Regions from separate parts of the Homo sapiens genome. Here region 2 is linked to region 1. The links are contacts of gene promoters, found by promoter capture Hi-C in blood cells and fetal thymus (Javierre and others, 2016). All regions are on one chromosome and are shown on one strand. The core of a region is centred on a gene start or on the middle of the fragment in contact, and the rest is flanking DNA. Distances in the headings are between cores, read along the strand shown.

What was found. The method cuts DNA at HindIII sites, captures the fragments that hold promoters and counts their contacts. A CHiCAGO score of 5 or more calls a contact.
Region 2: a contact is called between a fragment that was not itself captured here and the fragment with the promoter of LIPE in region 1, in 1 of 17 cell types (neutrophils). The highest score is 6.5, in neutrophils.

The regions. Positions count from the first base shown.
Region 1 is chr19:42,423,483-42,429,823 of GRCh38, forward strand. LIPE (lipase E, hormone sensitive type) reads right to left here and starts at 3,906. Exons shown (of 10, transcript NM_005357.4): 1 at 2,785-3,906. The coding sequence starts at 3,667. CXCL17 (C-X-C motif chemokine ligand 17) reads right to left here. Exons shown (of 4, transcript NM_198477.3): 4 at 4,796-5,499. The coding sequence ends at 5,402. All of the region lies in intron 1 of LIPE-AS1 (LIPE antisense RNA 1), which reads left to right. RefSeq lists an enhancer at 28-97. The HindIII fragment of the contact is 12,356 bases long and covers 1-5,418 here.
Region 2 is chr19:42,170,162-42,175,721 of GRCh38, forward strand. It overlaps a transcript of POU2F2 not described here. Among named protein-coding and RNA genes, the nearest start is that of POU2F2-AS2, 20 kb to the left of the region's middle. The HindIII fragment of the contact is 3,530 bases long and covers 317-3,846 here.

The DNA.
Region 1 (6,341 bases), core at 2,656-5,155:
CGAGGCCGGGGCCATAGCGGCCTCGGCGGGCTCCGTTCCCCCGGCCAACTCCATCAATTCCCCGCGGTCCTCCCGCGGGGGCCAATTCCAGCCGCGAGGCCCTGCCCGGAGGGCCAATCCTCGCTACACACTACTGTCGGGCCCCCCTATTACCCAATCCCGAGCTTGCTCTTCTCTGGGTCCAGCTCCCTAACCAATTCTGGTCTCCCTCCGCTGCCGTGCTCCGCCCCCAACCGCCAGAATTTAAGATCTGGCTCCGCCCCCTACCGCGCATTAAAGGGCTCGCGGCCAACAAAAAGGCAACCCCGGGGGTGGCGAAAAGCGTCCTTCGGGCAGGACTAGTGCGGAGCCCCGCGGGGAGCACCCCAGCAGGGAAGTCCCGATCTTCCCACGTGCTGGGAAGCCTCCCATGTGCTGGCTCAGTCTCGCCATCCCACTCACCTTCCCAGGGAGGGATGCCCTAGCACGCGGCCCGGCCCGCCTTTTGAAGGGGGAAAGTGGGGCGCCTCTGAGCCTCTGCCTGGGGTGGGGGCGGGCCAGGTCCTCTGCCAACTCAAAGACGAGGCGGGGCGCCAGCGCTGGAGGCGTGGCTGTGCCTGAGAGCCGTTGGAGGAGGGAGCCCCGCTTTCCCTCTCCTGTCTCCTAGTTCTCCTATTGCGCTTTTCCTGGGGGATCTTTCTCCCTCTGTCTCCGCCCCCTAATCCATGCTCCCGATAATGAGGGTGGGGGATGGTGGTAGGAGAACGCTCGGCGCCTGCGCACTAGCTTCAGGCCGCGGGCCGGCCCAAGAGCGGAGGTAGAGGGAACGACGCATGCTTGAGAAATGGCGGGAAACAGAGGAGGCTCGAGGCTTGCTCACACGCACACAGCCAACTGCTTCTGGACCGCCTTGCTCACACGCACACAGCCAACTGCTTCTGGACCGCCTGAAAGGCAACCTCGCCCGCCGCGGTGGTGTGGGGCGGGCATCCCTTGAGACTGTGCTCTGGAGGCCTGGAGAAACAGCTTTCTATCCTCAGCACTGGGGAGAGCAGGCCTCAATCCCTGCCTTTGCCTGCCGCCCCTCTTCCTTCCCTCTCAAAGCATACCCAGCAGCCCCGGCGCTGAGAAACGCGTTACTCTCTTATCAGCTGTGGGAGAGACAAGACAGACTGGCCTCTGGGCGGAGGGGCCGCCATTGCCTGCCCTCTGGACCAGGGCCTCACAGATACCCTCAGCTTCAGGATTAGGGCTGCGTTGGTTTTTCCCCCCACATCAGGGGACTTCAACAAGTAACCTCCAGTTCCATAGATAAAACTTGTATTCCCCCCTTCTCCATGGCAGGGGTTTTGAGCCTAGAGAAGGAAGATCGGAGCTTCCTGGGGCTCCTGTGAAGCAGGCAGGGGGCAGCACTGGGCCCCGGGAAGAGGCGGAGAAGGCGAGGGAGTGCCTGCGGTGAGCCCAGAGCCTTGGGCCCGTTATCCTCTGATGCTGCTCCCCCAACTTTCCTGCCGTCAGTCCCTGACCTTGCCTGAGACCTTGGCGGCTCCCGCACCTCTCTCCCGGCTCCTCCTTGCTGAGAACACAACCCGCAAGGCCCTTCCGCCTGGCTGGACTGAGTCCCCTATGGAGGCAGCCTGGCAGGGAGCAGGTATCTTCCTGGCAGAAGAGGACAGACCTGGTAAACTGAGAGACTGTTGATGCCCCAATGTTCTGCCTAGCCTGCCTGGAAACTCCAGAAGGGTAAGGTACCGTCTTTGTATTGTATTGCTGGGACTTACGCCCGTGTCTACCCCAGAGCTGGTGCTCAGTCAGTTTCTGTGGATGGATGAATGAACACTGGCAAGAGGGCCGCTTTCCTGGTCTCCTGGTCCCTAGCTCAGAGTGCCTTCCCACTCTGGGATTTGATTTTCCCCAAATCCTCTATAGGGAGGCAGCCTGGTCCAGGGGAGAAAGACCCCGGCTTCAAATCCTGACTTTGCCACTTCCTAACTGCATGGCCCTGTGCAAGAACCCTTACTTCTTTATTTTCTACCTGATGTCCTCATTTCTAAAATGAGGATGTTGGCCAGGTGCTCGGTGGCTCATGCCTGTAATCTCAGCACTTTGGGAAGCTGAGGTGGGAGGCTTGCTTGGGGCCAGGAGTTCGAGACCAGCCTGGGCAACATAGCGAGGCCACGTCTCTACGGAAAATGTAAAAATTAGCGGGGCATGGTGGTGCACTTGTAGTCCCACCTACTCCGGAGGCTGAGGTATGAGGATCGCTTGAGCCCAGGAGTTTGAGGCTGCAGTGAGCCATGATCATACCAGTGCACCCCAGCCTGGGCGACAGAGTGAGACTTTGTTTTTTTCTTTTTTTGAGATGGAGTCTTACTCTGTCACCCAGGCTGGAGTGCAGTGGCACGATCTCAGCTCATTGCAACCTTTGCCTCCCGGGTTCAAGTGTTTCTCTGCCTCAGCCTCCCGAGTAGCTGGGATTACAGGCACCTGCCACCACGCCTGGCTAATTTTTGTATTTTTAGTAGAGACGGTGTTTCACCATCTTGGCTAGGCTGGTCTTGAACTCCTGGCCTCAAGCAATCCATCTGCCTCGGCCTCCCAAAGTGCTGGGATTACAGGTGTGAGCCACTGCGCCCAGCCTTTTTTTTTTTTTTTTTTTTTTTTAATAATGGGGATGTTGATCTTTATCTCAGGATTGTTGAAGGATGACCAGAGCTAACCTGATACACCGTAAGTTTTTAGTATTTTTTAAGTAAATGAATGACTGTCCCTGAGAGGCTTCAATTCCTCCAGATTCACACTCACCTGTATCCTGGTAGTGTCTGTGATTCCGAGCACTGGTTTTCTCATGTGGCGACGTCCCACTGTATCCTGACATCACTTTATAACCAGATTTTCCTTTGAAGCCTAGCTTCACTCCCTGGGCCACCATTCCACCCATCGTGGCTGGAGAATCTGTGTCTGAAGATGATCCCACATCTGATTCTGACTCAGAATCTGTGACCCACTCAGAAAGTGCCTTCCACTCTAGGGCTGATCGCTGTATGGATAGTTCCTGAAGTTTTGTTAGAAATCCCAGCTCTGTCAAAGATCCCTGCTTGGATTTGGCTCCCTGGACTGGCGTTGTTTGCTTGTCTGACTGTTCAGGTGTCTCTTGGGACGTAGATTCAGTCGGGGCAGATGGCTCCCTTTTGGCTCCAGGTTTAGCCTGGGCCGCAGGTGTTGATTCAGCTTCTTGTTGAGCTGGAGGTGGCTCTCCTGGCCCAGGCCCTGGCTGGGCTACATGTCTTTGTCTCAATGCTGGCTCCTGTTGAGTTATAGATTCTTTTCCTAGCCCAGGTCCCTGCTGGGAGGCAGCTTCCTGTTGAGTGAGCAGCACCCTTTGGATGTAAGGTGATTGCTGTGGTGCGGGCTTCTGTGGGGCAAGAAATTCCTCTTGTGAAGCAGATTTTTGTTGGGCTCTAGGTTCCTTCTGGGATTCAGCATCATGTTGTGCAGGGGTCTCCTGCTGGGTGAGGGGTCTTTGGTTTGAAGCAGGCTTCTGTTGGGTATTGGATCCCTGCAGAGTCTTCGATTCTGGCTGGGCTATGGGTGTCTTTTCTGGCCCAGGCTCTAGCGGGGTTATAGGCCTCTGGTGTGGTTCAGGTTGCCAGTCTGACCTAGACACTGACTTAGAACCTGGCTCCATTGTTATTTCCCTCACGGGAGATATTGATCTTCCAGGTTCTATCCTTCTGGGCTCCCACCCAGCCCTCTCTCTTCACAGATCTCTCATTGATTCCTCATGATGGCACTTCCTCTTGGGTTTCACTCCATCCTAGCATCACTGGTCTTCCTTTTTAAGGCAGCTGGCAGTTGGCCGATCACAGCTGGCCCCCACTAAGTAATGAACTCTGTGCCTCTTTCTTTGGTGGGAGGATTAGGAATAGGAGGAGGCTATGTGCCTAGCACTCTCTTACAAGAAGGGAGGGGCTTGCTCTCTTGTGTCATAAATAGGGCCCCACCCCACCCACCACTCCGTTAAAATGTTTCTTCTCATAAGGCAAGCATCCCAATTTAGGCCTCCGTGTCATCTGGGATGACAGAAGCCAGATGCTGGATGAGTGTTCCTTTTTTCTCTTTCCTTCTAATGTCTGAGGAAAGCGTCATTCAGGGGGCAGTCTCTGTAGTTGTTGTAATAATTATTTCCCTCTTTGTTCATTCCTACAAATGGTTGCCAGATTATTTATTTATTTACTTATTGAGACAAGTCTTTCTCTGTTGCCCAGGCTGGAGTGCAGTGGTACCATTTTGGCTCACTGAAGCCTCCACCTCCTGGGTTCAAGCGACTCTCCTGCCTCAGCCTCCCAAGTAGCTGGGACTACAGGCGTGCACTGCCACGCCCGGCTAATTTTTATATTTTTAGTAGAGATGGGGTTTTGCCATGTTGGCCAGGCTGGTCTCAAACTCCTGACCTTAAGTGATCCACCCCCACCCCCCGCCCCCGGGCCTCCCAAAGTGCTGGGTTTACAGGTGTGAGCCACCACGCCCAGCCAGGTTGCTAGTTTAATTTCCTTATATTGTCATTCTGATCATTTAACTCTCATGTTAAAAACTAATGTCATGCCTTCCCACTTTTATAGCTTGAGGCCCTTCTGAATGGCATTTGAGATACTCCATGCCATCTCTCTAGCCCTGAACTATGATCCTGTACTAGATTGGAAACTCACAGAAGACAGTGACCACTGATGACAATGACTGATAATGATGGTGGTAATGGTGATGATAGTAGTCATAAATACCAAAGGCTGCCTAAGTGCTAAGAAACTGTGCCAAGTTTTTTTTTTAAACCTATATTATCTTTAATAAGACCGTGTCTGGTTCATTGGTATGCTTTTTTTTTTTTGTCCCACCTCGCTCTTACCTCAGAAAGATTTGTCGAATGAGTGAAAGATGAACAAGTAGGCCAATGGAGACAGAGTGAGGGTCTTGGTGGGGATAAGTATGTGTAGAATCTGGATTCAGTCTGCAGTGAATAGGGTAAAATGGGTCATCTGGTTGTGAATTGGCAGACCCCATTTGAAGGAAACAATTTTGATCTGTGACATTTAAAAATATTTATTGACTTCTGTTTGCTACTTTCCTGATTGCATTTAAGGTTAAATGACACTAGCTAGGAAGCTACAGTTTCCTGGAATCTTTCAGGTAATTAAGCCTAAGCCTGGGTAAGGGGAGGGCACAGGCTAAGACTGACGAGAGAAGAAGACACTAGAGAGAGCAACAAACAAAATGATCTTGAAAAACATGCTTTTTGAGAGCACTGGAATGATTTAGGGGTGGGTACAGTGGGAGAGTGAGGTGGGAGAAGAAGAGTGTCTGGTAGGTGTGCTCACTGTCTTCTTGGCTGAGAATGTTTAATTGGAAGAGTGGGCGCTCAGAGCTCCTACAAAGGCAGAGCAAAGCTTCTTAGCTGACATTGTTTGAGAAATTGCTGGCAGGCTCTGGAATGCTTGTTTGGCTTTCTGTGGTGCCTTTGGTGTCCTAGGGTGCAAATAAAGGGGAGAGGCTAGTGTTAAAACCATTTTTAACATTTCTTTTTTTTTTGGAGACGGAGTCTTGCTCTATTGCCCAGGCTGGAGTGCAGTGGCAGGATCTCAACTCACTGCAACCTCTGCCTCCCGGGTTCAAGTGATTCTCCTGCCTCAGCCTCCCAAGTAGCTGGGATTACAGGTGCCTGCCACCATGGCTGGCTAATTTTTGTATTTTAGTAGAGACAGGGTTTCACCATTTTGGCCAGGCTGGTCTGGAACTCCTGACGTCATGTGATCCACCCACCTCGGCCTCCCAAAGTGCTAGGATTACAGGCATGAGCCACCATGCCTGGCCTTCACATTTAATTTTTTTTTGAGATGGAGTCTCGTTCAGTTGCCCAGGCTGGAGTGCAGTGGTGCAATCTTGGCTCACTGCAACCACTGTCTCCCAGATTCAAGCGATTCTCCTGTCTCAGCCTCTCGAGTAGCTGGGATTACAGGCACCCACCATCATGCCTGGCTAATTTTTGTATTTTAGTAGAGATGGGGTTTCACCATGTTGGCCAGGCTGGTCTTGAACTCCTGACCTCAGGTGATCCACCCGCTTTTGCCTCCCAAAATGCTAGGATTACAGGTGTGAGCCACTGTGCCCAGCCAACATTTAATTTTTATGAGAGTTTTAAAAATTATAAAAATAAGACTCATCCAGTGGAAAAAAATTTTAAAATCCAGTAAAAAGTAAAAGGACTCCTCCCACCCCAGCCTCTACAACACATTTTCCAGGGCTAACCACTGTTAATAGTTTGCTACGTATTTTTCCATACCTTCTGGTATATAAATACAATGGTTTAT
Region 2 (5,560 bases), core at 832-3,331, 260 kb before region 1:
GGTCTGATGAGATTCAGGGAGATGCCCCCCTCATCCTGGTCTGGCCCACTCCACCCACATCCATGCTCCGAGGGAGATGCTGCTGTGGACACACAGATATTCAAACTCTGAAACAGGCAATCACACAAGCCCACACCCGCCGACACCTAGACAGAGGCTCAAACAGATGCACAAAGACGGCCTCATGGGCCACCAGATACATGGAAGGCTCAGAGTGCAGAGCCAGACCCATCGCTTCTTCCCCACCCCAACCTTCAACCCAACGCCAAAAAAAAAAAAAAAATGCTCAAGAGTGCATAGTGTCTCACAGTAAGAAAGCTTTCTACACATTCAATAGACGCAAACACACACACGGACCCAAAAATGCAGAGTCCAACAAGAAAGGTCCCTGAACACTTTGTGGGTGGGCATGTACACATAGACGCACAAGCAAACACATACACAAAGGCACATACATAGATGCACACCAGGAGTCCCAAAGATACAAAGTTCTACGAAGGTAGGCACATGCTGACAACTGCAGATAAATGTATGAACACACATGCACACAAACATGCACACATACAAAGACCCCAAGACACACACGGCAGGCAGGATGCATGGTGGATCCAGGCTGGGAAACCCACCCTGCTGCAACAGAGCCGGATCTGGCCCTTTCCCCGCTGAGGCGAGAATGGCTGCCTGGTCTCTGGTCATGGGCCCCCAGCCAGCTTCAGCCAAATGCGCCATCATTTGTCCAGCTCTGAGTCACATCAGTTGTCGAGCCTCCCCTCCTCGCTGACCAGCCATCTCGGCCATCAGCGGCCTCGGCCATTAGTCGGCTCCTGCCTCTGGCCTGCATTTGTTGAATCTCCCTTACCTGGCAGAACCGTCCGGACCAATGGAACCCTTTTGGAGTCGGCCTGACCTTTTCCTCAAGGGATTCCGATGTACCCTGTTGTATGACCCTCGGCCCATGCCTCAGGGCGACCCTCCCCTCAGCACACTGCTCAGGCTGTCATTCTTCAATGACCGCTGGCCACAGTAGTTCTGGTGGATTGTGAGGCTGTGTGTTTGAGTATGTGTGGAAGTCCGCTTGTAGGTATATGTGTATGGGTGGTGGGATGGCTATAGCTGTGCTTTAAGTCAAAATGAGTGTGTGTGTGTATGCGTGTGTGTCTGTGTCTGTGTGTGAATAAGGGGATAGGAAGTCAGCAGCTGTGCTTAAAGTCAGAGTGCCTGAGTATATGGTTGTATATATGGGGAGATGGAATGTCAGGGGCTGCGCTTCGTGTGTGTGTGTGTGTGTGTGTGTGTGTGTGTGTGTGTGCACTTTAATGCAGGAGTGACTTGGTGTATTGGCCTGGGCTTGGCGTGGGGGGCCATGAGGGGCCGTGTCTGTTTTGGGCATGGGGGGCAGTGCGGTACAGGCATCTGTTTCTCAAGCAGTTGTGAGCAAGTGGAATGTGCCTCTCTCAGACTCCGTTGCTTGTGTTTGTGAAAGTGACAGATGCTGCCTCCCTGGCCTCACTGCGGCGGATTAAGTCTGTGAATGCCACATGAGTCTGCACCCCGGGTGGGGGAGGGTCCCCAGTCTGCTCTTATACTTGCGTGTGTGGGCCACAGCCCTATACTTTATAGGATCCTGAGAGTGTGGACTAAAGTAACCCCCAACCTTGTTGGTTTCTGTGAGGGAGACCCTGAATGGATGCCAGAATAAAGGTCCCTGTGTGTGTGTGCACAAGCACACTCATGCTCATAGACAAGTCCGTATTGTCCAAAGTACGTTGTCACGAGATGCATGTGTATATGTGTATGTGTGTGTGATTGCAGGCATAATAGCTCCCCGCTGCCAGCCAGATCAAGTTCCAACTTCTCAGAGCAGCAGCTGAGCCTCCACAGACAGGGCCTTGCAACATTGTGCCAACCTCTACTCTTAGACTACACCTCCAACCTGGGCTGCTTTCTCCTCACTTTCCTCTGCCATCTTTATGCCCTGCCACCAGTCTGCTTTTCTCAGTATCTGAGCATCCTTAAAGACTCACCTCCCTGTCTAAACCCACACCATCTTCATTCCCCAGATTCCTAATGACCTGGAAACTCCCTTTGTGCTCACAGTCCAGGCGCCCAGAATCCTGTCTAAGGCTGGGATTGGTTCTGCTTCAGAGTCTAGGCCTTTGTTGGCCCATGGTCAGTGCCTAGCGATCATTTTCAGGTTAAGGAGTGATCATACCACCATTGCCCGATTACCTCAGGGAACTCACTGGACTTTATTTGTTCAGTGATTCACACCACTCAATAAATACCTATTGAATGCAGGGACCTTGCATGTGGAGCCACCACCTTCAGCCTCCTTCCGAATGCGTCAGAGCTGGGAAAGCTGCCTGTCCCGAGGATCTAATGAAGTTGGGGTGGTGATCGAGTGAGGGAAAATGCACCTGCCTCCCAAGGCCACCATGTGGATCTGAAAAGGTGACACAGGGCTCACCAAAAGGGGTAGGGGGGACCATAAGCTCATGCAAACCCCTGTGTTTGAACAGGCCCAGCCCCAAACCATCACTGATGGAACGAGCTCAACCATGCTCATTTGCTGGCTCTCCCTTCAGGATATAAAGCGAGACCCACATCCTTAGAGCCCTCACTGAACCACATAAGGCATCCATCCACCCGACAGGTCCTGGGAGACAGGTCTGTGGATGGACATCTCAGGGGGCAGGGAGGAAGTGGGGGAAGAGACAGAGCCAGTGAAAGGAAATGGCGCTGGGACAGCTAATGGGATAGGACAGACCTATAAGGACAGACAAGGCTCGGTATGAGGAGGACCTTGGTTCTAGCGCCAGCATGGTTGCTGACAGGCTGAGCAAATGATGTGGGCCTCAGAATTCTCATCTGTGAGAGGGACACCACTGGGGCTGCTGTGAGAGCGAGGTGGGTGTAAGGGACATCATGGTCATTATTATTATTAGATCAAGAGGTGTTGAGCCCAAGGGAAAAATGATGAGTGAAATATATTTAGAAGGAGGAATAGACATCCATCTGAGGAGGCCTTACACCCACTCTGTCTTCTAACAACTCTTCACACTTGGGTTTCTCAACCATCTCCATCCTGAAATATCTTGGAAATTAACCAGCACATGCCAGAGATGGAAACTTCTCCCTTGCCATCATCGATGTCCAAGTAGCCCCTGGTGTGGCCATCTGTCCCTGCTCCCCTCGTTGCAAGTCATGCCTCTACACATTATGATTATGCACCAGGGCTATGAAAAGCTCTACCCAGTGGGGTGCTAAGGTTGGGGCCCTTGCTTTGCTGTCACATTGGTGGAGGAAGAAGTTCTGGCTTATAGGCCCTGCATACAAGAAGGGAGTGTATATGAACCAGAATGGAGGTGGCCTGGAGTGGCCACTGACGGACTTGCTAGAAAAAAAAAAAAAAAACACCTGGCCAGCATGCTGTCTAGGACGTATAGGCTAACAACCTCTACACACACAGCATGGGTATAGGTGTGTGCATACACACACACTGTGGCTGAGTTCTTTCCCTACTACAGCCCTGACACAGACACCTTCCATTTTCCCTGCAAAGACTAGCAGAGGGAAGTGAGCGCAACCAAGACCCCCAAAGATGACACTGCAACCTGCCACAGAGTTCACCAGCACATGCCAGCACAGCCTCAGGGAAATGGGGGTCTGGACCTCTCCAACGGCAAGGATGGGCCTCTGTCCAGCATTACCCATAAATCAGGAAGTAGATGTGGAATCGCATTATCAGCAACTGGAGATGCTGCCTATGGCCCTGATCGGCTTTACTCCTGGCCTGCCTGTCACCCCCTGACATGGGACGCTTTGTTACTACAGAAGGTCCAGGGAAGCTTTTCATGGGCTGATAGACTGTGGGGAGAGGGGATCTTTTCTTGTTTTGTTTTCTTGAACCCAGCTTCAAGGCTGCTGTGCAAGCATGCCGTCAAACTCAGCCATACGCCCGCGACCTCTGTGCACTCACACATCTCTCATCACTCTACCCAGACCCTGCTTCACAAACCCACCCTCCCTCTTACCCAGGACACGCAGAGACCCCGAGCAATAACAATAATAATATCTCCATGCAGAAATGGTACTTTCACATATGTGACTTTTTTTGATGTGCACCCTTGTGTGCACACACTATGTTCAGACCTAGTACCCATACACAGAGCCTTCACTCCAAACACGCTGCACATACAAAGTGTCACGTGTCCACTGCTGAAGCCAGACTCGGCACATGGGCCTGCACACGCGTGGACGGCTTCCACGCACAGAGCCAAAGAGGGCCTCCTGAATGCACACATAGCGAGTGATACATAAACATCAGGACGAGGGAGAGATCAGTACAAATATGCACTGACTCCCTTCTGCACATATGTCACCCATGATGGGGACCCCCAGTACCCAACCCCCCACTGAAAACACATGTCACGATTCTACACCTTTGGCTCCTCACTCTGCCAAGGCTTCGAGGCCCAGCACACACAGTTAGTCCTTCCTGAACACATCTCACCACACATGCAGGCCTTATACACATGCATGCTGCCGTCATGGTCTGACTCTGTACCCACCAGCCCCCCACTGCACACTGACTCTGTACCCACCAGCCCCCCACTGCACACTGACTCTGTACCTTCCCCTTATATCCTGGGGGGTGGAAGGACAAATCCACCTGACAAGATGGCAAGAGACTAAAAGCTACTGAGCGAAGCGGCTGATTGGGTCTTTCTCTAAATCCAGGACCTACTCCCCAACTCCACAGGCCCCAGGAAGGAGGCAGAAAGTGGGGAGTGGTCATCAGGCCAAAGGCTTTCTCTCAGGATCTTTTACCTGGACTCAAAAGCTCTAAGGACTCTCTCAGATGGACTTCCGCCCCAATTTCCTCCCGTTTTCACTTCCCGCTAGGCATCCATGTCATTTTCTTCTCTGTCCACACCCTTCTCAGTGGGGCTGAGTCGACAGCCATGAGCCCTCACTTAAGATCTTCCCCTCCCCCTCCCAGAGCCCCAGTGAGCATCCAGCAGGACTTCTCCAGGAGGCCACAAGGAAGTAGGGGGTGGCACTAGAACCCAGGGGACAGACCCAAACCCCCACTCAGGGTAAAAAAGAGGGTAGAAATACATGGGGTTTCAGAACAGGGGTTAGGCTCTGGTAGGAAGTTGGGGATTCCTGCCTTTGCATGGAGCCCCTTTCCCTGGCACCCTGTTGAAGGCCAGAGCAGCAAGAGTGATGAATAAATGAAACTGAGGGAGGGGGTAGAAAGAGCTGGCAACAGGGGAAATGAGTGGCAGGAAGGGAAGAATAAAAGAAAGGGGGAAAGGGGGAAGGGAAAAACGGAGAAAAAAGAAGGGAAGGAGGTGGAGATAAGGGAGGTAGAAAAAGAAAAACTAAGGGGTGGGGAGGAGGAGAAAGAGCTTTTATTGAGAAAAGGAAGAGATAGAAACTGAAAAACAGTGAGAAAGAAAAAACAGTAAAGGAGATGGAAATAAAGGAGCTGAGAAAGGACATGAAAAGGGAAAGAAAAGAGACCAAAGAGGCAGCAGGCAGTCGAAGGGGTTCC